7 separate regions of the Homo sapiens genome follow, and all the other regions are linked to region 1. Evidence: promoter capture Hi-C in human tissues and cell types (Jung and others, 2019). All regions are on one chromosome and are shown on one strand. Each heading gives the region's core, a stretch centred on a gene start or on the middle of the fragment in contact. The rest is flanking DNA. Distances are from core to core; before and after follow the strand shown. Region 1 holds the start of VPS4B (vacuolar protein sorting 4 homolog B). Region 2 overlaps SERPINB10 (serpin family B member 10). Region 3 overlaps PHLPP1 (PH domain and leucine rich repeat protein phosphatase 1). Region 4 has its middle 20 kb from the start of SERPINB2. Region 5 has its middle 280 kb from the start of PHLPP1. Region 6 has its middle 270 kb from the start of BCL2. Region 7 has its middle 260 kb from the start of BCL2.

Region 1 (3,748 bases), core at 557-3,056:
TTCCAAATAGGACTACAAAAAGCTACAAAAAACTCAAGTGAAGATTGCTGAATCTTAGTTTAATACAACCTTGGTGAAAAAGATAGTCATCCGGGCACGGTGACTCACGCCTGTAATCCCAGCACTTTGGGAGGCTGAGGTAGGCGGATCACCTGAGGTCAAGAGGCCAGCCTGGGCCAACATGGTGAAACCTCATCTCTACTACTAAAAATACAAAAATTAGCTGGGCGTGGTGGTGGGTGCCTGTAGTCCCAGGTACTCAGGAGGCTGAGGCAAGAGAATCGCTTGAACCTGGGAGGTGGAGGTTGTAGTGAGCTGAAATCACGCCACTGCACTCAAGCCTGGGCGACCGTGCAAGACTCCGTCTCAAAAAAAAAAAAAAAAAGAAAGAAAAGAAAAGGAAAAAAACACAGACAAATCAACACTTGACTTATTCCACAAAATGAGTCATTGTTGCAATTATACAATTATAATATTTTGTGAAAGATAACAATTATTTTAATAATCTTCTAGGTCGATTTTCAAGATGAAAGTCCCAAGCAAGCCTCCTTTCCCACTCTTTTTGTGTATGTGTGTGTGAAATTTTAATCTCTGTTTAAGTGGGTCTACTTTGAGTGGTCTTTCTTCAGAATCAATTATCATGGGTTAAGGAGTTCTTCCATTACCTTTGATGCCTCTGTCAGGCACTCCAATAACTGCTTGTTCAACAAACTACCGGAAGTCCACGACGGGGACTCAATACAAGTATTTTAGGCTACTCTTTTGTGCCTTATTGACTTACTGGACTGGGAGTCCTCTACATTAAGCCACATTACATTCTAAACGCCACTGAAGCCCTAGATCCATTCTGGGGATGGGAGACACCATTACATTAAGAAATTTCTTTTCTGAACGAATTCCATTCCACAGAGGACTAACGATTAAGCCTAAAATCTTAAGATTCCATGATTTGTGTACAAAACACTGTGCTCATTGCGGTAGAGGAGGGGAAGTGGAGCCACACAGAGGTTTAAGAATACTCCTCGATCTTACACACTACCATCTGGGAGCCACAGGAGTGTGCACATAAATTCAATGACTTCACGGAGATTGCATGCAGGCTGGCTGTAATCTCAGATTCTTGGTCTGTTCCCATATCTCTACTCACCTGACAGCTCAGAATGAAGGGGTCTGCTGTCAGCTTGAGAAACTAAGACCGAACTATGACCACCCTATCTTCAACTGGTCCAGAATAGGGCTTTGCAAAAATTACGTTCTTTCTTTCTCCGTTAACCCTGATTGGAGAAACCTGCCCAGATCTTGGCTGGTTTGGAAGCGGGAAGTGTCAACAAAAGTGAAGAGTCTCACAAAGCCAGTAGCTCGGGAGACCCCAAGAGCGGGCCAGAAACGACCTTTCCGTTGGAAAACGGGCCCCTCTCCCACCTGCTGCAGGTCCCCGGACCCGCCCTCCTGCGCCTCGACCACAGGCGCGGCCGCTTCCTCCCTTCTCCCCGCCCCCCACCCGCTTCTCGCGCCTCCCCTCGATCCCAGCTCCCTAGGGGGACGGGAGATGAGCAATGATACCTGGAGGTTGGGCGAAGTGGATGACATGGCGGAGTTCCCAGGCGGTTCCCAAGGGAACGAGGGGCGAGGAGAGCCAACAGCAGCAACGTCGAAGCGCGCACGGGGTAACAGCCCTCAAACTGGGGAGGCCGGTGGTTCTCGGACCGCGAAGGGCAGCCTCCCTTCCGGAACTTGTTTTAGACAACACTCTCTCCACCAGAGCTCCGACCCTCCCCACCAAACTTCCGCAATCCCGAGGCCCTCTAGGTTCTGGTCCCGCCTCTGCTCCGGGCACTTCCGATTTCGTCATCAGCACGCGCACCCAGTCACCAGACTCCCTTCTCTAGCCACAGCGCAGGCCCTCCCTGGGCCGGGAGAAGTAGCCTGGAAGCCAATCGAGCCCTGGCGGAAGTCGGGCTCGGCGCAGGCGCACTGAGACTCTGGCCTAGGCGCGGGCGGCAGCCTGGCAGACCTAGGAGAGCGCAAGCGCGGAAGCACAGAGCCGGGTTTTGTTGTTTGTTTGTTCCCCACCCCCGGGGACGTCTTTTACTTTGAGATGAATTATTGGCCCCGGCTCCCTTCCCTCCTCATCCACATGCTTTGTTGCCTCGTAGCTTTTGAGTGAAAAAGTCGTCCATTTCCAAGACCCGCCGACTGGGGGCTTTGGGCCTGTGACTGCGCCTTCACTCCGTGTCCTCTGTGGAATGGGGGCGATCACCGTCCTCGTCTCGGTGGTGAATAATTCAGGAGGGAGTGCGCGGTGAGGCGGCCGCACAGCGGTGCGCTAGCAGTCAGGCCGCGGGCGGGTCGGCGCTCGTTCCCGCTTGTTCTTCCCACGCCACTCGGCATCTTCCAAATGACTGTTGTGTTGGGAAGATGAATGTAAATAAGGCGTGGACGGCCGCTGTCCTCGAGTATGTGGTCTGAGAGGGAAGCACTTGTCCTGTAAAATGGGCATATCAGATATTATTTATGCCAGTTATGTTTACAAGCAAATGGCTTGAGGAGGTTGAATGCGTCAGGGATTAGAGGCAGAACCAAAGTAAAACCCTTTCTCAGCCTTCCTATGGTTTGCAGCCACCACCACCCTTTTCTTCTTTTCATAGTTAACATTCTCAAAGGAAAGCAACATAGATGTTTAATCACTCCATCATTTTTTTCTCACTCATTTCTTAATTTTTTCTCATCTGGCATCTCCGAAAGAATTAAAGTCCTCTCCTCTTCCCTCTTCATTGGTATTGTCAACTACCCAGTTCTTGTTTGTCCAGCTTCCCAATATTCCTTATCTGCTTCCTTCACTGTCTCCCTTTCTTACTCCTCCCTGAGCTTAAGCTGAATTTACTCAAGAGTCTGATGTCCTCTTCTCTCTTCACCTCTGCTCATCTAACTCTCTTCTTGAGCTTCAGCTATCAATAGACTAGAAATTGCTTCAAATCTGGATCTCTAGACCCACCCCATCCCCAGCCCAGCATTTACAACAGCCTCCCAGAGGTTTCCTTCACAGGGTTTTTCTGCAAGACAAATTCAACATACTCTAATTAATTACCTTCTACCCTAAACTTCTTTCTCTGGTCTCTCCTTAGAATAGTATTGCCAAATCTGTATCATCCAGGCTCGAAGCACAGAGCCCTCTCTCTGCCCTGCATCTACCCGTCCTTTCTTCCCACTTGTGAATTTGCCTTCGCAAAATGATGACTGAGACAGTGAAAGAGATCTAACTTAACCAACTCCATCTTACTTTTAACCTCCAAGCTGTCCTTGTACATTCCTGAGCATAGGCTGAACTAACTGTGGGAGAAACTGAGTTTATAATTTAAGCAAAGATGGGCCGGGCGTGGTGACTCACGCCTGTAATCCCAGCACTTTGGGAGGCCGAGGTGGGTGGATCACTTGAGGTCAGGAGTTCGAGACCAGCCTGGCCAACATGGTGAAACTCCATCTCTACTAAAAATACAAAAATTAGGCCGGGTGTGGTGAGTCACGCCTGTAATCCCAGCACTTTGGGAGGCCAAGGCGGGCGATCACCTGAGGTCAGCAGTTCAAGACCCGCCTGGCCAACATGGTGAAACCCTGTCTCTACTAAAAATACAAAAATTAGCTGGGCATGGTGGTGCGTTCCTGTAATCCCAGCTACTCGGGAGGCTGAGGCAGGAGAATTTCTTGAACCGGGACCTAGGAGGCAGAGGTTGTGGTGAGCTGAGATCGC
Region 2 (3,748 bases), core at 613-3,112, 500 kb after region 1:
TGGTCAGTACTTCCCTGCAAACAATCAATTAGACCAACCAATGAGTGTCTAGTGGTAAAGGAAACCAATAACAGGTCTCAAATCAGATCTAGGAATCAGATATTTCTGTCTAGAATAAAGAGGTAGCCCCTGAGAATGGCCTACAAATACATATGGAGACTTGGCTGGAGACTGTCTACTTGAGAGCAAAACTGACCTTGGGATGAGAGAAGTGAGGAGTTTTCACATCAAGACTTTACAGACTTTGGGAACATGAAACATGAAATAATATCAACCTCTCCTCTTTACTAAGGGTTGAAACCCCACCAATGCAGACCATGATGACTCTGTCCTCTGTTAAGAGGGTCACATGACAACCCAGGTCAATAATTTCCTTCATTGTCCAACATCTCTTTGGGCAGGAGGACCCGTGTGTCCAGTGGGCAAAGAGCAAGGAAATTAGATAGGGTAGAAGAATAGCAATAAGATAAAATAAAGCTACCTTGTGATTTCAAGCAATGCTATCTCTGTTCAAATCTAGTGAATTCTGGGGAGTTCAGGAATTGAGCTTTGTTATTACTAAAGACATAAAATCATCCAAATGGAATCTTAAAGACAGTTTCCTTTCTTGTAGGCTCATGGACTCTCGTTTGATGCAGAAGTAGGAGACATGATTGACTCAGTGGGCACTTAGAAACAAGAGGGACACAGAGATAGAGACAAACATATTTTTATATGTCCACAAGCCCTGAATTAAGACAGGCAGTGGTCCCTCAAAAATATTTAAGTTTTCCTTTTATTAGATTTTAAATTCCACAGAATTTAGACTTCATAATCTTCAAGCCACTTCCTGGCAACAGAATTAACTCATCACTTTTTCTCCTACAAGCCCTGCATAAAGTAAGCAAATTGAAGGAATACTACAATGTCTTGAAGAATAAATTGTGTTCCCAAGGCAGATGCCTCCATAACAGCAAACTCAGTCATAGCCTACATGTGATGACTGCCACTGGGTGAACATCAGAGGACCAGGAGGAGGTGAAGGCCTCATTTTTTTTTTTTTTGCCTCAGAATGCCTAATATAACATTCAACTCTGCTTAGAAATCCATTTTCATGGCAGGATATCATTTTCTTCAAGGGTCCTCCACAAGATTCTTGTTGTTTAGAATCCACAGAAGGAAGCTACCAGTATCACAAGCCTCACTTTGGTTTCATACCTACCATAAAAAGTCAAGTACAATGCCCAGTACCTCTTGGCCACTGGGGTCACTCTTGTTATTTGTAGTCCCTTTCCATTCTAGCCTCATTTCAAGGCATGGATAAAAATAGAAAGGAAGAGGATGTGGAAGCCCCAAAAATGTGGGCATCCGTACTTCCTTCCACAGCTGGAGCTCTGCATAGCTAGCCAGTGCCCTGCTAAGTTTGAAGAGTGAGGTGTTTAGTTTTTGACCAAAACTGGGAGTCAGGAAAGAGAGGATGGAGTGATGGTGTGGGAGTGTGCAATTGCCCGCCTACCTAGTTCTTTTGATAATCTAAATAGATTTGATTTCTCAATTTTGAACAAACTCTACAAAAGGGGATTTTTATCTATGTCTTTCAGAAATATTTAGAAGACATGAAAACATATTTTGGTGCAGAACCTCAGCCTGTTAACTTTGTGGAAGCTTCTGATCAAATCAGAAAGGACATCAACTCTTGGGTTGAAAGACAGACCGAGGGTAAGCTTTCACCAAGGGGTTTGGCAGCGTGCTTTTCCCAAACATCCTTGTATTTATTTTAGTTTGTGTCATATGTAAGTATGTATACTCCTTAAATAGAAGTGTGGACACATTGTAAATATTCAGAACATTTATTTCTATTCATGTACGTAATTTTTAGATTCACTGCCTTCCTAATAAGTCTTATCTAAAACAAGTAAGTCAGGCCATCACTTTACCAAATAGACAAGAAAATTATCATCTCCCACTAATTCCAAAGAAGAGCCCAAGGGTAAAAAGCAGAAAAATGCAAAAAGGAAATTGAAAATACTGCCACATGCATGGTTTTTAAGGAAAAATATCTACTAATAACAGAAATGTGGCATTAAATGTGCTATAGAATCTTAAATACTTTTCAAAGTAAGTTCAAGTATCAGTTAGAGTATGGATTAAACTACTCTAAAGAAGAGACCCAAAATATAGTGGCTTAATAAGACACAAGTATGTCTTTCTCTCAAATAATAGTTCAAAGGTAGTTAGGCATCCTGGCTTAGAGAGAGCATTTTGCCTCCCAAGGCCATCCAGAGATCCAGGCTGGTGTTCAGCACTGCCATCCTCAATACATGGCTTCCATCTCTAGGTGCAAGATGGTTCTTACAATAGCCAGTTGTAGTAGCAGCAGGAAGTGGGGAAAAGAAATTTCAGCAAAAGCTAATTTGTCTTTAAGGGGATGCCCTGGAAGTTTCACATGTTAATTCCACTCATCTCCCACTGGTCTAAACTTAGTCCATAGCACACTTTCTGCTAGGGTGACCAGTGCATTCTGGTTTGCCTGTGACTTTCCTAGTTTTAGGATCAAAAAGCCCCTAATTCCAGGCAAGAGTGACCAACCACATTCCAGTCAATTCCAGTCACCATACTTGCTAGAAGAAAGACCTGCAAAATGGAGTTTTCAGCTGGGTTGCCATTTGTCACCTAAATTTCAGGGTTTTATTTCTAAAAGGAAGTAGTAGAAGGATTCTCCCAGGCAATTTAACAGTCTTTTATTGTTATCCTTATTTTAGAAATAAGGAAGCTGAGATTTTAGAGAAATTATCTATGATTACACAGTTTAAAGCTTCAGCAATAGGATTTCGAATATAAGTCAGCTTAGTTCCAAAGTCTGAACTGATTTCTACACACCATGCTGCCTTTTAAATCAACATTTCAATTGATATTATATTATATCTTATGAAGAAATACAAAGGCATCATCATTAATGAAGATTAATTAATCATTCATGACTTAATGAAGATTAATTCATCATTTGTCATTAATGAATATTAATGATGATGCCTTTGCTTTGTGTCTAAGCACATGGAATGTTTTGCTGTCTTCTCCTCTGAACTTCAGGGCTCATAACAAACACCTGCTAGACATATTTGCCAAGGGTCCCATGCATTTCAAATTCACCATACCTGAAATCACATTCAGAATGGTTTTCCCAGACCTTGTCTTCCTCATGTATTCTCCATCTTGGTGAATGGGTACACCAATCACACACTTGCCCAGAACAGTAATCTGAGACATACTCTAAATTCTACCCTTTCCTTTGCTTCCTCTTAAATGTTTCTCAGAGTTCACTTTTCCTTTCAATTCCTTTCCTCCACAGCCTTTCTTTCTTCGCTATCTTTTATCTGCACAAATGCAATAATTTGCCTCTAATCTTGTTCCCTTCAAATCTAACCTCCATTTACCACCCAAATTACCTGCCTAGAATACAAATTAGACCAGATAGGCCATGTCACTTCTCTACTCAAAACTGATTCATGCTGCCCCATGACCTATGGGATCAACACAAAGCCCTTAACCAGACATATAAGGGCCAATATGACTGTGGAGCCTTGCTTGTCTCTCCACTTAAACTCTTGTCACTCCCTGGATTAAAATTTATATTTCAGGGATTCTACATGTCATAGAATGTCCCGAACTCCCTGTGCTACTTAATGGCCCTGTACTCATGCCATTTCTTCTATCTGAAATACCGTTCCCTGCCCTGCCACCCCCAACCCCTCCTTTGCCCCCAAATAAC
Region 3 (3,748 bases), core at 565-3,064, 450 kb before region 1:
AGAAAGAGACAAAACTGAGTTAGGAAAATCTTGAAATAAGCACTGGGCTGGGCCTGGAGCAGGAGGATGAGTGGACTCAGCACAGAAGTGTGGTTGCCTTGCAGGTTGTGTGTCGCAGCCCTGTCGGTGAATAACTTCTGTGACAACCGCGAAGCCCTGTATGGTGTGTTTGACGGAGACCGGAATGTGGAGGTGCCCTACCTTCTCCAGTGCACTATGAGTGACATTTTGGCTGAAGAGCTGCAAAAAACAAAAAACGAAGAAGAATACATGGTCAATACATTCATTGTCATGCAAAGGTAAAACTCAGAGTTCCTGCTTACCTGCTGTGTGTTTTCTTGCTCTTTGAGTGTTTATCCTCTGTTTAGAAAAGCAGGTGCCCAATGGTCTCCAAGCCATGTTTTTTGACTATGAGTACCAAGATGCATTCAGGCAAGTTTGGTGTTGCCCAGGCATCAGGAATGGTGCTCCGGTTTGAGACATACTGATGTTCAGACAACTTTGTAGAAGGCTCAGACAATGACAAGGAATTAGTTTCTCTGAGAACTGGACCTCACTGGCCTGTGTTGATTGCAGATTTTCATCAGATTGTTTGCAATGCCATTTCTCCTCCCAAATCATGTGAGCTGTAGGGGCTTTTTAGACTTTCTGTTGTGGGGACCTCTCTTTGAAATGGACCGTTTCTATCCTAGTTTCTTGGCCCTTATGAAATACTATCACTGGTTTGAGATAGTGCAAACCTTTGTGAAATCAAGATGGTCAGATTTTAGCCCAAGAGTTAAATCATTCTTTATATTTTGTTTTCTCCTTTATTAAATGTTCAAGACAGTGTTACTGGCAGAATCCTAGGCCATAGCCTGGAGTTGCCACCAGCAGCAGAGCTTTAGGTTGCTGTAGAAATTGTGGAATATTGTTTGTAACTCTTAGAGGAATGAGGATTCCTTCATTCAGAGAATTGTTTATTCTTACCACCTTCATGGCTTTCTAGGTAATAATGGAATTGCCTGTCTATAAGTATTGTGCTGCAGACTCACTCATGTGGGACCCAGGAGTGATGAATGTACTGGTATTTGAGGTCATGAGAGCAGTCATGGTGTTTTATCCTTATCTGCTCTTTCTCTCCCTTGATATTCTGCCAGAGCAAGTAGCTTTGTTAGAGGGGTAGAAGTGGTGTCTGGGGAGGAGTGTTCAGAGCAGCCTTTACAGTGATACCTGCATCACAAATGGTTCCTCTCAGAGAGCTTGGTGGAGGCAAGCCTGGGGTGGTTCTTGCTGCTACACTCACCCCTGACTTTCAGATTCTCAGTGAGCATATACAATTAGCAACTGAACAATAATGGCTAATATCCAGCAAGCCCTTAATATGTACCAGTCATTGTTCTAAATTACCTTATGTGTCATAAATTGTTACCAGTTAGCTGGGTAATGTTACTGAAAGTGATGTACAGTGAGGTGAAGCACAGTGCCTACGGGCTAATAGGTAGTGCAGCCAGGACCTGACCTCAGGTTGTGAGACTCCCTTCAAAGGATGTTGTAACTAGCAGGCACATCAGCTTTCCTGTTTTTACCACCCTTTTGTTCTAGAAAAACAGCAAGCATGTATCATATGCACACACATACACATGTGCATACAGACCACAGCACAAACACATCCCTTCACAACCCCCAAAAGGTCTGCTTTTTATGCACCCTCAAGCACTGGGTAAGAATTAAAAACTGAGAACCCCAGTCTCGGATTACTTGCTATACTTTTTACAAATCACTGTGCCTGTGAAAGGGAGAAAGTAGAGATGCCTTGGAAGGGTCTAGAGCCAAATATCTGAAAGTTGGAGTTTAGGAACCTAAACTATAGGCCCTTCTCCAGGGTCTTTTGTATGTCTCTTATTTTCCCTATCTGTTAAGAGGGTACGGGTTGTGTGGTGAGCTTTTGGTCCTTAGGGGAACTGGTCTTTGTGCGGGATTTCCTAATGCATGCAAGTAGGCAGCCCTGGTTTCCATTGCTCTTCTTGCCAGTTGCTTACCTTACACACGTGATAGGAGCAGACAGTACCTGAGGGTCTGCCCTTGTAAAACGGGAGGCTGTTTTTCTTAACTTTCTTGCTCCTGTACCACTCAGGAACAGCAGGGGCCTGGGCAGTGTTACCATTTGTGGGGCTTGCCATAGTTGTTCATGAGGCCATGGGAGCAATAATGGTCTTTTGTCCGTCTCTGCCATTTCTCTCCCTTGATAATCTGCCAGAACAAGTAGCTTTGTAAGAGGGGTTTTTGATTTTTGATTTTCAGAATTTGCAGGTGCTTTCTGTATTTGGTAGGTCTGTGGATTCTCATGATTAAAAAGATAAATCACAAGCACTTGGTATTTGATTACTAGAATGTCCTTTCTATGAGTTTTCTAGAATAGATGGTGCTGGTCCAGAAAGTCTTTACTATATAGGGCAGGAACATGAACACTCCAATACTTCAAGGCTGCTACCAGCAAACACCCTTATAAGGGGGAGAGGGTTGTCAGGTTTTTCTAAAGTGTGCCTGTCAGTGGGGTAGGGTGTTTATACCTGCTCTTACATACATGGTTTTTTCAATGTTCCTTTCCTGGGGACAGAGGGGATTTAGAGAAGCAGATGGAGAAAGAAGTCATTTTCCTGCTGTCTTTGGAGTGTGCTGATAGGGCAGTGTGGTTGATGAGGGTAGCAGGCTGTACACAGCAGCCCAGGGGCACCCGCCTTCCAGAGCAGCACCTGTGGCTTTTAATGGTACAGTGATACTGTCTTCCAGTTGTGAGCCTCTCTGTGTGGATGTGTGTGATGTCAGATTCAGGGGCTCTTTTCATCAAAGAGGCAGAGCAGTGTGTGCTTTGATGAAGGAGGCGGAGTGGAATCCCCAGCTGTCTCCTTCCTGGCCCTGTCCAGTGGTGCGGTCTTGCTGTTGAATTTGCAGAACTGGCACTGATGGGCTGTGTTTGAGTGTCACCCCCTCTCTTCGGATTCCAGGAAACTTGGAACTGCTGGGCAGAAGCTTGGTGGTGCCGCTGTCCTTTGTCATATCAAGCATGACCCTGTGGATCCAGGAGGATCCTTCACCTTGACCTCTGCTAATGTGGGCAAGTGCCAAACAGTTCTCTGTCGAAATGGAAAGCCGCTGCCTCTGTCCAGATCTTACATCATGAGCTGTGAAGAAGAGCTGAAGAGGATTAAACAGCACAAGGCCATTATCACTGAGGTGAGAAAACAGGGGTGTTGCCCAGGATGGTGGAGAGGAGAGGAGAGGAGACCAGGTCATAGCAGAAACTAGCTAGGGAGCATTTGCCTTCAAAGAACACTTTTGAAGTTGGTTTGACATTAGAATTCCAAATCCATAGTATCACAAAGCAGATGTCTTACATTATGATGTATATGCTTGTTGGTTGCCTCTCTGCATCAGGCACTGTGCTGCGTGCTTCATGGGCATGATCCCATTCCATGTTTGCAGCCACTCTGCAGAGGGCTGCTTTGGTGGTTGAGGGCTCTACCCCTGACATCACACTGCTAGTTTTCATATCTTAGCTCTGCCACTTGTAGGTTGTGACCTTTAAACCTCTCTAAGCCTCAGTTTTCTCATCTGTAAAGTGGGAATAATCATGCATCTGTCCTATCTTACAAGGTTGGTATGACTTGTAAACTATGAACGTCTATGTAAGTGTACTAGTTGTTATTTTGGTTCATACCTCATGTCCCATTTGAGTACACAGTAAGCAGTTTTCAACTGGGGGCAG
Region 4 (3,748 bases), core at 867-3,366, 450 kb after region 1:
GACACTTCTCAAAAGAAGACATTTATACAGCCAAAAAACACATGAAGAAATGCTCATCATCACTGGCCATCAGAGAAATGCAAATCAAAACCACTATGAGATATCATCTCACACCAGTTAGAATGGCAATCATTAAAAAGTCAGGAAACAACAGGTGCTGGAGAGGATGTGGAGAAATAGGAACACTTTTACACTGTTGGTGGGACTGTAAACTAGTTCAACCATTGTGGAAGTCAGTGTGGCGATTCCTCAGGGATCTAGAACTAGAAATACCATTTGACCCAGCCATCCCATTACTGGGTATATACCCAAAGGACTATAAATCATGCTGCTATAAAGACACATGCACATGTATGTTTATTGCGGCACTATTCACAATAGCAAAGACTTGGAACCAACCCAAATGTCCAACAATGATAGACTGGATTAAGAAAATGTGGCACATATACACCATGGAATACTATGCAGCCATAAAAAATGATGAGTTCATGTCCTTTGTAGGGACATGGATGAAATTGGAAACCATCATTCTCAGTAAACTATCGCAAGAACAAAAAACCAAACACCGCATATTCTCACTCATAGGTGGGAATTGAACAATGAGATCACATGGACACAGGAAGGGGAATATCACACTCTGGGGACTGTGGTGGGGTCGGGGGAGGGGGGAGGGATAGCATTGGGAGATATACCTAATGCTAGATGACACGTTAGTGGGTGCAGTGCACCAGCATGGCACATGTATACATATGTAACTAACCTGCACAATGTGCACATGTACCCTAAAACTTAGAGTATAATAAAAAAAAAAAGTTTAATTAATGTCATAAATTATGATGATGATGGGGAAAATAGGGATATGACTGCATTTATGGAGCCACTTCCATGTGCCCAATACTAAATATGAATAAATGCTTTATGTATTATTGCATTTAATTTCACACAAAAACTAAATGATAGATCATATTAAAGCCCATTTTACATATAAAGATATGAGAGAGCTTAATAAATTGTCCAAAGTTATCCAGGTAAGTTGGAGTAGACGTTAAAAGTTGATTGGGATTTTGTTAAGATACAGTTGATAAGAATGGGGCCTTGACATCCTGACTAACTAGCTGTGCAACCTTGAGCAAGTGCTCTACTATCCTTAAGCTCTGTTTTTCTCCTCTATGAAATGGGGCAATCATAGTACTAATACATATGGTTATCATACAAATTAAATTAGATAATATAGCTAAATTGCTTAGTACCATGAACGCATATAGTAATGTGCAATTTCAGAATTGTCATTATGCACGTAGAATGTTATTCATCACTATGATTTTATGAATCGACTCAAAGCTTGTGTTCTTTTCACTATTAAACACACTGTCTACATATAAGTACAAAAATAAGGGCGTGCGAAGTAGGTGGTTACCTCAGCCCAGCATTGATAGAAGAGGGCTGTGAAGGGGAGGGAGGAGGAAGGAAGAGCTGGAATGAATCCTGCAGAGTTCACAGCGAAGGTGCGGAGAATGATGAGGATGGCATTGAGTAGGTGGGGAGGTCAATTTCATACTGTGAAAGATAATTCCATTACATTTAATTCAGCCAACATCTGCAGAATACTTACATTGCTCAAAGCAGAGAGAAACATGATTTAACTTCCACTGTAGAATTATAGTGTAGTGAACAAGTCAGACAGGTATACCACTATCTGTTTAAATTTGGGGTGAGGGAAGCAAGTGTATGTGGTGAGGGGTTTTGTGAAGTTCTCATCCCAGGCAATGGTAACATCAAAACAAAGAAGCAAGACAAACTAAAAGCTAGATGGAAAAGTCTTTATCAAAAAGAGAAAAAAAGAAACAGAAAGAGAAATTTTAGAATTGTCATAGCCAAAGGGTCTCAAAAGCAATCATTAAACCTGGGACATGAAACCAGAAACTGGGAGTCAGAAAGCTAGAAATGTGTTGAAACAAGCTGAGAGTAACTGGGTGGGGTAAGGAATTGGGAGAGGCAAATATTTTGCATAGCTGTTTGTGCTCATGTTTGAGTTTTATGAAAATAACATAATACTTTTTAATTAATATAATGTAAATCTTCATTTTAAATTGAATTAAAAATTATGAACGGCTTTTCATTAAGTTAAATGAACACATTAAATTAAGTTAATGAATTAGTGTTCACAATCTCCACCACAGGTCTGCCTCTCTCTATTCTCTTTGCTTCTATTATGTGGGGGAGGTTTCTTGCTTCATGGATTAGTTTCTAGGCAGGAGAAACTGAGTAATGTGTATAACCCAGAGGGTAAGTTAACAGATCTAATTAAGAGCTAATAAAAAGGAGGAAAAGGAAGAGGCCTGAGGAATTTTTGTAAAGCAAGGGGTTTAGGTGTCTGAGAGGGCGTGTGAGAGTAGGGAGCAGAGAGAGACATCGAAGAGCAAAGGCAAGAGGGAGAGGCAAAGGTCCAGGCACAGGGCTGTTGTTGATAGAATTGGAAAAGAGTTGCAAAGGGATTTTTGATGTGGTGTCATGGAGGCCTCAACTGGAAACCCTCTTTCTTCCAAGAGATGGAAGCAAAGATTGGAATTGCTTTTCGATTATTTCTGGTTTGCTGGACTATCCAGACAAGGTGCATTGTAACCTGCATGTTTCCGTTGGGGTTAGCAGTAGAACTCAGATAGCTTCATCTCTTGGGAAATAGATATCAAAGAAAGATCCAGAGACAGAAAGCTTTAGAAAAGGAAAGAACAGGTAACCTCAGAAGAAAACTATGTGCAAAATTACCAAGATTTCCAAATTTACATTAATCCATCGATAGTGGAAAAAGCAATGACTTTCACGTACTTGTGTTGTATTCATAAGGGTCATGCCATAGCTTCGGATGTGACTAATTAGGGAGACCAGGTTTATTTGAGGTTTTTATTATTTGAGAGTGAAACTATAGCCAGATGTAATAACCATGTTATTAATGATCCCAAGATGCAATTTTTTTCCCATACTCAAAGTGCTTTGTTATATTAGAAGCAAGGAAGAGCGTTAGTTTTCACTTCTACACAACAAGGTTTCATAATCTATTATAAAAGCCTGTAGCAGGCTGGGTATGGTGGCTCACGCCTGTAATCCCAGCCCTTTAGGATGCCAAAGCGGGCGGATCACTTGTGGTCAGGAGTTCAAACCAGCCTAGCCAACATGGTGAAACCCCGTCTCTACTAAAAAAAAAAACAAAAATTAGCCGGGCTGTTGTGGGCTGTAGTGCACCTGTAGTCCCAGCTGCTCACGAGTCTGAGGCAGGAGAATTGCTTGAACCTGGGAGGCGGAGGTTGCAGTGAGATGAGATCGCACCATCTCACTCCAGCCTGGGTGACAGAGACAGGCTCCAGCAAAATAAATAATAAATAAATAAATAAAGCCTGAAACAATAAGCAGAAATGAACTAGAATGGGCCAATGCTACAAGAAACTAGGAAACAAAAGGAAACTGCAGAATCAGCAGAGGCAGACAGCAACGCAAGGTGTAAAATAGAAACTCCCTTGCCACCCAAGTGGATAGAAAACAGTTTTAGACAAACATACTTTGTCATTAATTTAACTCCTTTGAAAGCCAAAATAAGATGCCTCAAACCTCTCCTTGGGATTGGAAGTTGCGACTTGAGCAAAACTTTTGTTTTCCCTTTTTATAGTTTATATTTGTGTGTGTCCAATATCAACTGCATCTATAATTCTGTTATTTTGTATTGTCCGTATGCACCACAGTGCACATTCACTTT
Region 5 (3,748 bases), core at 721-3,220, 430 kb before region 1:
GTTTTTAAAGCCCAATAGTTGAGTGTGCCTGGAAAGAGAAGCATCAGTCCCCTGCTCCTCCCTCCCTCTCTTGTCCTCCCTGGCTCCCTGTCCTCCAGGGCAGCCTCTTTCAGCTGTTCTTGTGCAGTTCACCCCAACCAGAAAGGCTTTGATCACCAGCTCTTCATTTTTTTTTGTGCTTATTACCTTCCCTCTATGAGGATTTTGTGCTCTCACCCCCCTCATCCCATGCACACACACCCTTTTCTCCTGTCCTCCTGACGTTAAATCATATTTTGTTAGATCAATAATCAGTGTTTGTATCATTGTGAATATGTAAATATTATCTGCAGCTGAGCTAGGTAGTGCCTTTTGATTCTATCTCCTTTTCTGTACAGGTTTTTATTTGGAGTTAATACTTGCCTGTTTTTTGTTTCTTTGTTTTTGCTCTCTTGATTTTCTATGTAATTTTCACTTATCCCCGACCGCTCCATCAGAAGTATAAATATGTTCAAACACATTCAATAATCTATGAATTAAGTTATTCCTCTTTTTCTTTTCCTTTCTTTTTTTTTTAAGACAGAATCTCACACTGTCGCCCAGGCTGGAGTGCAGTGGCACACTCGGCTCACTGCAATCTTCCCCTCCTGGGTTCAAGAGATTCTCGTACTTCAGCCTCCTGAGTAGCTGGGATTATAGGCACGTGGCACCATGCCCGGCTAATTTTTGTATTTTTGGTAGAGATGGGGTTTCATCATGTTGGCCAGACTGGTCTCGAGCTCCTGACTCCAGGTGATCCGCCCATCTTGGCCTCCCAAAGTTCTGGGATTACAGGCGTGAACTACCACGCCTGGATGGATTATTCCTCTTTTTGTTAGTGACATCCCTCTGGCACCTCTATCTCCCTGTCCGGTCTAGCCTTTTCATCCCCAGGATTGCTACTAAGCTGTCATCCTTGTGCTTCCTTTTTCACTTCCTGGGAATTTTCTTTGCTCATCTCCTTTACTGGATCGCCTGTCCCTGCGTTTGTATTTTCTTCTTTCTTGGTGTACCCCTTCATTTTACCAGGAAAAAATCTCCAGTAACTTCCTTAGAAAATATGCATAGGAAGTCAGTTTCATGAGCCCCTACCTGTCTGAAGATATCTTTGTTTTTCCATAACACTTGATGGATGTGTGGTTGAGCATAGAATTCTGGCTGGAACTCTTTTCCTTCAAAAATTTCACAGCATTGCTTCCTGCTTCCACTGTTGAGTCTGAGACTGATACAATGATTGTGTTTCAGTAAAACTTTATCTGCACAACTACGTGTTGTGTTCCAACAAAACTTTATTATTTACATGTTCTCTACAGCTGCTTTTGTGTTATAGTGGCAGAATTGAGTAGCTGGGACAGAGGCTGTAAGGCCCACAATGTCTGAAATATTTACTATCTGGCCATTTACAGAAAAAGTTTATCAACCCCTGTCCTATTGAGATCTTTATAGTTCACACTGGACTACTGTGGCTAATCCTCAAGTTTTCTTATCTTTATGTCCCTTTTGTCTTTCTGAGAGATAACCTTATTTTATCCTCCAAATCTCTTAAAAAATCTCTTCTATCATATTTTAATTTCCAAGTGCTTTTTACAGTTCTCTGAATTTTCCTTTTTCCTAGCATCCTGTCTTTTCCTCTATGAGGATATAAACTGGAATAGGTGTTTTTGGTTTTGTTCCTTGAATTGTCTGTTTCTGTGTGTTTTGGTCCCTGTCTTGCCCTGGGGGCTGTCCTCAGGTGACCGGTGCTCCTGGGCTGCCAGTCCACACTGAATGAAGAGCGTCGCACCAGAACACTGCCAGCCCCTTGTGCCCTGGTGGGGCATGCCCACAGGAGGGTCTGTGCATGCAGGGGCGGCCTAGCTTCCTCGGGGCCCATCCCTATTGTTAGCATTTATCCACCTTTTCTTTTGAGCCAGCAGGAGCCCTCTAATGTCTCTCCTGGGGAGATGGGTAAGGGTGGGGTATTTATTTTGACTGTTCGCCTACTTTCAGCACGGAGAACCGATCCACTGAGCACTTCCTCTATTCCAGACACCATTCCAGCCCCTGAGGTTAGTGGGAAGGAGGTCAGAGAAGGCCAATGCCTTCAGGCAGCGCCTCCCGATGGAGAAGATGGACCAGGAATAAATACACTTTTTAAAATTAACACTATTATATTTCAGATTGCAAAAAAAGATATGAAGGAAATAGAAGAGGGTAAGTGATCGAGAGTGATATCTGACCTAAGACCTGGCCGAAAAGAAGTCAGATTAGGATCTGGAGGAAGGGAAGGAATTTCAAGCAGAGGCAACTGCAATGACCCGGAGCGGAAGCAAGAGCCGGGACGCTCTCGGGGAGTGGGCAAAAAAGAGCGTCCCTCTCTCCTCACCCCGGCATCTGACCAAGAGCAGAACAGGGCAGAGAAACATGCAGAAGAGGGCGAAAAGGTTGCGTGTGTGTCTTAAGGCTGGCCATGGAGCCTGTGCCCTGTGTCGCCGGTAAGTGAGCCAATGACTGAGAGCCTGGTTCAATCAGACTTGCCCCCGCAGCCAGAGAGCGCCCCCTGTAGGGAGCCCGGGCTCCCGAGGGAGGGAAGACGGGCTGCGCGTGCGCAGTTCATCCTCCCCTCAGGCGGGGAGGTCAGGGGCCATGCAGGGAGGTCCTCCTGGCTGCAAACTGGGCGCGCCCAGGCGCCCTGGGGAGGGTGGCGTGGCTGGAGCTCAGTGATTCAGGGGAAGAGTGTGTGAGATGGAGGCCAAGGCCAAGGGACATTAGTGAACACGATGCTCTGAATACAAGGAGAAATGGGAATTTCTAGCCTAGGAGCCGGGCTGCAGGTGAGCGGATGGAAAATTAAGAGGAAACATCAGGAGAACAGGGGATTCTGGCCAACGACACGACAGAATTCTTGCTGAAGGCAGGCCAGGTGATAAGATGTCAGGACTGGGCCGGCACGGGGTCTCACGCCTGTAATCCCAGTACTTTGTGAGGCTGAGGCAGGAGGATCACTTGAGGCCAGGCATTTGAGACCAGCCTGGGCAAAAAAGTGAGACCCCGTCTCTACTCTCCTGCGCCCCCCACAAAATAAAGCTGGGCGCAGTACTTGAGCCCAGGAGGTCGAGGCTGTAGTGAGCCATGATCACGCCACTGCACTCCCCAATGGGTTACAAGGCAAGATCCTATCTCCTAAAGTAAAAATAATGAGGGTTGTCGTGCAGAACCCCTGTTAACTCCAGTAGGGATGGTGCCATGTCCAATAGGCTGAGGAACAGACCTGGAGCCAGCTAAGGAGACGTAGGGTTTATTGGGGACTCACATACAGAGCTGTCCAGGAGCCCCAAGCTGGACAGGAAGATGGCTCTCATGTGTAAGAAGCATGCGGGTTATATGGCATTTTCACTTAGGAACCTCTACCTGGCAACCTCCACCTGGCAACCTCCACCTAGCAACCTTCATTTAACCCAAAACAAAGGGCCTCAATCCCCTGTACCGCCTGCCATTCCAAGGGATGGGCCAGGGGTCTGGACGTCCTTCAGATGAATCTCCGGGCGGCCACTCCTGGATTCCTTAGCTCAGAACTTCGAACACACATTCCTTAAGACCATGGAGTCATTCTCAGGGTGTGCTTGACTTATTGCTGTTAGGTGCATCTGCCCTACAGGGTGGGGAGGAGGAATTTGATCAAACATCAGGAGTGGTCAGAACAAGGGTGAAACATTTGCTGCTACACCTGCCTGCCTGCATTCTTGCTAAA
Region 6 (3,748 bases), core at 464-2,963, 380 kb before region 1:
TGTAAGTTCTATAATTTAAAAGTGAAATCGTGTAATTTAAAAGTGAGAAAAGAACTAGTCAAGTATGAAAGAATTCAAGGTTTTGCATATCAGAAAGTCCTAAGACTCAAATGAGCAAATTATAACAAGTTAGCTCCTGAGTCCAACAGAGTCTTCTGTCTTATTTCCAGTAAAGTGTTGATCCCTTCTTTCTTGAGTGCAGAGCAGACACCAACAATGTGACTGCTTTATGAGCAAACAGCAGTGCAGTAAAACGGCTGTTCTGGTTTCAGGATACTGTATATAGGTGTGTGTTGATGTTACTATGCTGCATTCTGGAAGGACCTGGGAAGAAATTAAGTTCTAGAAAATGAATTACATCCAATAAAGTCTTTGGAAATCTCATTCGAGGAACTCAATTCCCAAAATCATATGTGAATTTATATATTTTAGGAGGCAATGACAGAAAAACAGCTATTATTTATTGAGCTCTTTGCGATGCCAGGCATGGTGATTAAAAACCTGATCAGTATTATTTCCCCTAGTCCTTTCAACAACCATTTTTGAAATGAGAAAACTAAGGCTCAGAAATGTTAAGTGGCCTTCCCAAGTCAGAGAACAAATAAGTTGCAAGAGTGAGATTTAAACCAAGGTAATGTAGTTTTAAAGCCTGTGTGTTGAGTTCTTAGACTATCAGGCACGGAAGAAAGCTTGTTGCTGACTTAGCGACATGACTTAGAACTTGATAACGTCTCTGGAAGAAAACTAAGAGTGCCAGAATGTTACAGTCTCAAAATATACTAAGTGCTAAAAAATTATAGGAAAGACATGACTTTATTTTTAAAAGTGTGGGTTCTATTTAGCCCCTCATTTGGGATTAGATGGCATCGTATGTTTTTAAGAGAAAATCATCTGCGGACAAGGAAAACATGTATTATTCAAAAGCTTGGGGTAAGGTTGGAGAAAGGCTGGGGAGTCAATGCTGAGAACACCTTTCTCCATGGCAGACTCAGACAGGACTGGGAATAATGAACAACACATCCAATGATTTAAATTCCCACCGGCGCTTAGCAATAGTGGCCCCAGCCTCCAATGGCCCCCTTCAGATATGCTCTCCGGAGACACACAATGGAAGTGCACTTGCCAAACCACAGTGGCTTCGAGATGAGTCTACCAGAGCCTCACCCCACCCCAGCCTCTATAATATATGTCATATGATCTATGAGTTATAATATAATTTTATATATTATATAACACATGTATTATTTATAACTCATGTATAGTATATAATATTTTTACTTCACTATAATTAATATATATTTAATATAATTTTAATGTACCTATATTAAATATATTTAATGTACTATATATTATATATGAAATATATATATAATATATAATGTGTTATAATATTATATATAAATATATAGGAGGAGCTTAGGATTATATATAATATGGTAATAAACCCAGATAAATTATTTTTGGGATATTTAGAAACAAAGCCAATCATCAGAGGCCCATCCTGGGTGACTTAATAACTTGAGTCTTCTATTTAAATCACTTTAACAGCCTGTAATCACAGCACTTAGGGAGGCCGAGGCAGTAGGATCACCTGAGGTCAGGAGTTTGAGACCAGCCTGGCCAACATGGTGAAACCCCGTCCCTACTAAAAATACAAAAATTGGCCGGGCACGGTGGCTCATGCCTGTAATCCCAGCACTTTGGGAGGCCGAGGCGGGTGGATCACCTGAGGTCAGGAGTTCAAGACCAGCCTGACCAACCTGGAGAAACCCTGTTTCTACTAAAAATACAAAATTAGCCAGGTGTAGTGGCGCATGCCTGTAATTCCAGCTACTCGAGAGGCTGAGGCAGGAGAATCGCTTGAACCCAGAAGGTGGAGGTTGCGGTGAACCGAGATTGCGCCATTGCACTCCAGCCTGGGCAACAAGAGCAAAACTCCGTCTCAAAAACAAAACAAAAATTAACCCGGCGTGGTGGTGGATGCCTGCAATCCCAGCCACTTTGGGAGACTGAGGCAAGAGAATTGCTTGAACCTGGTATGTGGAGGCGGCAGTGAGCCGAGATCACACCATTGCATTCCAGCCTGGCAACAAGAGTGAGACTCCATCTCAGAAACAAACAAACAAATCACTTTAACAAACAAACTATAAAGTACTTACCATACATGCCAGGCACTCTGCCAGGCATCCTGGGCAATTCAAAGATGATTTGCCTCTGGCCTGCTTAGAGTGGCTTAGATGGAAAATTCCATTTCATGACCTCTCTTTCCTCCATGTCTTCTCAGACCTGTCTAAACTGGTAAGCGCTGCACCCATTCAGGTTGTGGGTAACAGCTGAGATTGCAGTGTGTGTCCCACACTGGCATCTACAGGGCTCCAAGAGTCTGAGGATGTGGTGGGGGCCATGAGTTCCGTACAATACATATTTTTTGATGCTAATTTTTAAAGATCTTAATAGAAGTGAATGCAGCATCATTTGGTGACCACTCCAAAACTAAATCCCTGCCCAGGAGTGAGGTACCTGCATTTGTATTTACAATCTTTTTGTCACCAAGGAACATATAATTGTCCTGGTCTACTGCCAGAAGAGTGGGGTCTGAAAAGGAGAGATCTTGGCAGACGAAACTGTGACACCACCTTGTGCCAACTGAACACAAAGATTTCAACTAGTTAGAGAAGAGGCAAGGAAATCACTGAGCCATTAGATGCCCCCCAAGAATACAGGGATGTCAAAATTAAACAAAACAACAAAACTGCTGCCACAGCAATGAGTGCTGTTTCATAGAGAGCAGCAATTTAGCTTCAACAAACAAGATCAACAGTCCTGTGAGGTAACATTTTAATTTTGTTGGCTTTGTGATTTGTTTTGTTTGTTTGTTTGTTTTTTGAGACGAAGTCTTGCTCTGTCGCCCAGGCTGCAGTGCAGTGGCATGATCTTGGCTCACTGCAACCTCTGCCTCCCAGGTTCAAGAGATTCTCCTGCCTTAGCCTCCTGAGTAGCTGGGATTACAGGCGCCCACCACCATGCCCTGCTAATTTTTGTATTTTTAGTACAGAGAGGGTTTCACCATGTTGGCCATGCTGGTGTTGAACTCCTGACCTCAGGTGATCGGCTCATCTCAGCCTCCCAAAGTGTTGGGATTACAGGCGTGAGCCACCATGCCCAGCCTGTGATTTGTTTTTGACTTGTAAATTTGTTTTTATAAATCAATGCATAAGAGCTATGAGTATAAAGGATTAAATATGGAGTTTTGTATTTGTAAGCAGCATTACTATAGAAAAAAATTTAAGGCAATAAAGGGGGTCCACAACATATTTTCCCCTGAAAAGGGGTCCAGGCCAGGCGTGGTGGCTCACACCTGGAGTTCCAGACTTTTGGAGGCTGAGGCGGGAGGGTTGCTTGAGCCCAGGAGTTCAAGAGCAGCCTGGGTAACATAGTAAGACTCCATCTCTAAAAAAATTTTAAAAATTAGCCAGGTGTGGTGGCATGCATCCGTAGTCCCAGCTACTCAGGAGGCTGAGGCAGGAGGATTGCTTGAGCTGAGGAGTTCAAAGCTACCATGAGCCATGATGGCACCACAGCACTCCAGCCTGGGCAACAGAGCGAGACCCTGTATCCAAAAATAAAAAATAAATTTAAAACTGTTCATATGTTGCTGAAGCTTAAAAACACTCAGGTGACAGCAAAGGGAACATTTAGCCACACCGGGCATTGGAGGCTGGTTGCCTGTTCACAGAAGCACAGGTGA
Region 7 (3,748 bases), core at 471-2,970, 360 kb before region 1:
GTCTTCATGGAGCTTATCAAGAACATTTGCATGAGGAAGGGGCCTAGAAAATAAGCAAGAGCTATTCAAAATATTGCCTGATAAAGGGTCAAGTACTGGGTTAAATACTGTCCCCTCCCCCACTCCCCACTCAGTTCATGCCCACCCAGAACCATAGAATGTGACCTTGTTTGAAAACAGGATTTTTGCAGATGTGAATAGTCAAGATGAGGTCACACTGGATTTGAGAAGGCACTAAATTCAATGACTGGCATCTTGACAAGAAGGCCATGTGAGGACTCAGGGAGGCACAGAGGGAAGGCAGCCGTGGGAAGGAGGAGGTGGAGATGGGAGTGACGCAACTATGAGCCCAGAGTCACCCAGCAGTGCCGGGACCACCAGCAGTTAGGAGAGCGGCATGGGAGCTTTCTCCCCAAGTCTTCAGAAGGAACCAGTTCTGCCAGCACCTTGATTTTGGACCTCTGACCTCCAGCACTGTAAGTGAGTAAATTTCTGTGGCTTTAAGCTCCCTGGTCTGTGGTCATTTGTTACAACAACTCCAGGAATCTCATCCAGGTGAGAAGTGCTGTGAAGGTAGGGACAGAGGATTGGCCGGGTGCGGTGGCTCACGCCTGTAATCCCAGCACTTTGGAAGGCTGAGGCAGGCAGATCACTTGAGGCCAGGAGTTCGAGACCAGCCTGGCCAACATGGTGAAACCCCGTCTCTACTAAAAATACAAAAATTAGCTGGGCGTGGTGGTGCATGCCTATCATCTCAGCTACTCGGGAGGCTGAGACAGGATAATCGCTTGAGCCTCAGAGGCGGAGGTTGCAGTGAGCCAAGATCATGCCGCTGCACTCCAGCTGGGTGACAGAGTGAGACTCTGTCTAAAAAAAAAAAAAGTAGGGACAGAGGATGGAGTGTGTTTAGTAGGGGAGGAAGTTTGGAATTGTGGTGGGTAAGGTAGCCAGGGAAGCCCTCATTGTACAGGTCATGTTTGAATGAAAACATAAAGGCAACGTGAGAGATTCGTGCAGCCATCTGGGAGAAGAGTGTTCTAGGCATCTGTCTACAGCAGCAGTTCTCAAAGCGTGGGCTTGGACCAGCAGCGACAGCAGCACCCAGGAATTCCTTAGGAATGCAAACATCTTGGCCCCACCCCAGACCTACTGAATCAGAAACTCTGGAGAGGGGAATCGCGGGGATTCTGATACATCTCCAAGTTTCAGACCCACCATCTATATAACCTGGACTCCACCGAGCCTCCACCTCCACCTCCACCACTTTCTCTTGCCCATTCTGCTGCAGCACCAGGCTCTTCCCTCCGGGGCTTTGTCCTTGCTGTGGCCTCGCTCTGCACAGCTTCCCTCTTGCTGTCCCCACGTCTTGCATCCTTACCTCCACCAGATCTTTGTTTCAGCACCACGTTCTCACTGAGGCTTCTCCCAGACCACCCTCATTAAAACCACCACCCACACCCTGCAGGCCCCTTCCTATGTCCTGCTTTTCTCTTCTCTCTTTTCTTTTGTTTCTTTTTTCTTTTTCTTTTTTTTTTCTTTTTTTTTTTTTTTTTTTTTTTTTTTTTTTTTTTTTTTTTTTTTTTTTTGAGACGGGTTTCACTCTGTCGCCTAGGCTGGAGTACAGTGGCAATCATGGATCACTGCAGCCTTGACCTCCTGGGCTCCCACCTCAGCCTCCCAAGTAGCTGGGTCTATAGACGCACGCTTCCACACCTGGCTAGTTTTGTTTATTTTTTGTAGAGACAGGGTCTTACTCTGTTCCCCAGGCTGGTCTGGAACCCCCAGGCTCGAGCCATCTTCCCGCCTCTGCCTCCCAAAGTATTGAGATTACGGGTGTGAGCCACCGCCCCCGGCCTGTCCTGCGTTGTTTTTCTCAGTAGCACTTAGCTCTATTTAACAAATCCAAGTTTGTCAGAAATCTGGTTTCTGAGTCCTGGTGACCAACAACAGGTAGGGAACCCAGAGAGGGAGCGTGACACACGTGATTTGCAAATCAAAGTCACGCGGGTGGAGGAGTAGATTGGGCTCAGGAGAAGGAAAAAATGTTAGCACTGCAAGGGAAATGCGAGATCATCTCATCCTTGGGTGTCCAAACTTATTTAGATGTTTGCTTTTTAAAAAATTATATGACTAATTACAACTAATAAAGCAGATAAGAGCCGAGTTTTCTCTGCGTGGCAGACCCGGAAGGGCGTTGCAGGAGTCCCTAACCCAAGCATATTGTGGGAACTATTGACTTTGTTATCTCGTTTGTTAATGGTGAAATTGGGGCTTACAGTTGGATTTAATTTTACTTAAAAGAAATAAAAGGAGCTATCCATGTCAGATCAGATCATCCCTCAGGCATTATTTAACAAAAACATTCTGTAATTTAGTGGACTCTCAAGTCTCCTTCAGAGTCCTATGCCTGCAGATCCTGCCATCTGATTCCCCCGTGTTATCTAAGCTTCTCTTTAGGGATTCTCCAGCCCCCTCTTCTTCCCTGAGGGGCTCTCTCAGTGGTGTCATCGGTTTCTCCAAATTAGAAATGTTGACTTTTTTCCTGCTTTTTTCCCCCTGAATCCACATTCCCTTAGTCACTCTCTCCTGGTTTCAAATTCTTGTTTATTACACCTGAGCCTTCCAAGGGGAGAGACTGTTTTATAACTCCAGGCGTACTGGACTTACACAAGGTAAGTGATCCATGCATTAAATTGGCTTAAAAACAAAGCAATCGAGGCCGGGCATGGTGGCTTATGCCTGTAATTACAGCGCTTTGGGAGGCTGAGGCAGGTGGATCACTTTGACGCCAGGAGTTCGAGACCAGCCCAGCCAACATCGTGAAACCCCATCTCTACTAAAAATACAAAAATTAGCCGGGCATGGTGGTGTGCACCTGTAGTCCCAGCTACTCTAGAGGCTGAGGCAGGAGAATTGGTTGAACCTGAGAGGCAGAGGTTGCAGTGAGCTGAGGTCGTGCCACTGCACTCCAGCCTGGGCGACAAAGCGAGAACTAGTCTCAAAAAAAAAAAAAAAGAAGAGGGGAGCAAATGGATATGGGAGAAAATTGATCAATTCTAAGAAAGCAGGAGAGGAGAAGGTCCAGTGGCAGCTGGCTGCACTGAGATCTCGTGTTTGTGCTGAGATCTCGTGTTTGTGCTGAGATCTCGTGTTTGTCCTGAGATCTCGTGTTTGTCCTGAGATCTCGTGTTTGTGCTGAGATCTCGTGTTTGTCCTGAGATCTTGTGTTTGTCCTGAGATCTCGTGTTTGTGCTGAGATCTTGTGTTTGTGCTGAGATCTCGTGTTTGTGCTGAGATCTTGTGTTTCTGCTGAGATACTGTGTTTGTCCTGAGATCTCGTGTTTGTGCTGAGATCTTGTGTTTGTGCTCACCGTGACTTTTCCTTACCCATTCCAAGCAGGAAGGCAGCATGGCAGGTGAAAAAGTGAGCAATCTTAGGCAGTGCCCTTCCTGGCTCTGTGCTTCCTGACAGGCTGGTGCTGGGAACAAGGTATGGAAGTAGAAGTTCTGAGGAAAGGAAGAGAACTCTCCCTAGATTGGGAAGGGCTGAGGGTGTTGGGCTGCCCAAGTTGTGAAATATTAGTCAGGACTCTTCTTGCAGAACCCAACTTCAGGGAGCTGAAGGTTAAAGAGAATTTAATGACTTAGGCGACTGTGAACCTGGCTCAGACATGGCTGAATTCTGTTTCTCAGAAGGACCTGGTCCCTTTCTCCCCATCCTGTGCCTGTGCTGACCAACATGCTGGCT

Evidence for each region. The method cuts DNA at HindIII sites, captures the fragments that hold promoters and counts their contacts. A contact is called where the count stands out against the background at its distance.
Region 2: a contact is called between a fragment that was not itself captured here and the fragment with the promoter of VPS4B in region 1, in 1 of the 25 tissues and cell types used here (spleen).
Region 3: a contact is called between a fragment that was not itself captured here and the fragment with the promoter of VPS4B in region 1, in 1 of the 25 tissues and cell types used here (lymphoblastoid cells).
Region 4: a contact is called between a fragment that was not itself captured here and the fragment with the promoter of VPS4B in region 1, in 1 of the 25 tissues and cell types used here (lymphoblastoid cells).
Region 5: a contact is called between a fragment that was not itself captured here and the fragment with the promoter of VPS4B in region 1, in 1 of the 25 tissues and cell types used here (lymphoblastoid cells).
Region 6: a contact is called between a fragment that was not itself captured here and the fragment with the promoter of VPS4B in region 1, in 6 of the 25 tissues and cell types used here (adrenal gland, dorsolateral prefrontal cortex, heart left ventricle and 3 more).
Region 7: a fragment that was not itself captured here is called in contact with the fragment with the promoter of VPS4B in region 1 in 2 of the 25 tissues and cell types used here (spleen and thymus).

The regions. Positions count from the first base shown.
Region 1 is chr18:63,420,670-63,424,417 of GRCh38, forward strand. It overlaps VPS4B (vacuolar protein sorting 4 homolog B), which reads right to left and starts at 1,807. Exons shown (of 11, transcript NM_004869.4): 1 at 1,564-1,807. The coding sequence starts at 1,590. RefSeq lists an enhancer at 1,675-1,974. The HindIII fragment of the contact is 11,812 bases long and covers 1-3,748 here.
Region 2 is chr18:63,918,208-63,921,955 of GRCh38, forward strand. SERPINB10 (serpin family B member 10) reads left to right here. Exons shown (of 8, transcript NM_005024.3): 5 at 1,581-1,698. Among named protein-coding and RNA genes, the nearest start is that of SERPINB10, 12 kb to the left of the region's middle. The HindIII fragment of the contact is 5,143 bases long and covers 1-3,748 here.
Region 3 is chr18:62,972,410-62,976,157 of GRCh38, forward strand. It overlaps PHLPP1 (PH domain and leucine rich repeat protein phosphatase 1), which reads left to right. Exons shown (of 17, transcript NM_194449.4): 15 at 105-299; 16 at 2,988-3,216. Among named protein-coding and RNA genes, the nearest start is that of PHLPP1, 260 kb to the left of the region's middle. The HindIII fragment of the contact is 3,739 bases long and covers 1-3,684 here.
Region 4 is chr18:63,865,607-63,869,354 of GRCh38, forward strand. No RefSeq gene overlaps it. Among named protein-coding and RNA genes, the nearest start is that of SERPINB2, 20 kb to the right of the region's middle. RefSeq lists an enhancer at 3,545-3,748. The HindIII fragment of the contact is 4,452 bases long and covers 1-3,748 here.
Region 5 is chr18:62,989,557-62,993,304 of GRCh38, forward strand. No RefSeq gene overlaps it. Among named protein-coding and RNA genes, the nearest start is that of PHLPP1, 280 kb to the left of the region's middle. The HindIII fragment of the contact is 4,858 bases long and covers 1-3,748 here.
Region 6 is chr18:63,044,382-63,048,129 of GRCh38, forward strand. No RefSeq gene overlaps it. Among named protein-coding and RNA genes, the nearest start is that of BCL2, 270 kb to the right of the region's middle. The HindIII fragment of the contact is 4,462 bases long and covers 1-3,748 here.
Region 7 is chr18:63,062,162-63,065,909 of GRCh38, forward strand. No RefSeq gene overlaps it. Among named protein-coding and RNA genes, the nearest start is that of BCL2, 260 kb to the right of the region's middle. RefSeq lists an enhancer at 3,055-3,349. The HindIII fragment of the contact is 4,298 bases long and covers 1-3,748 here.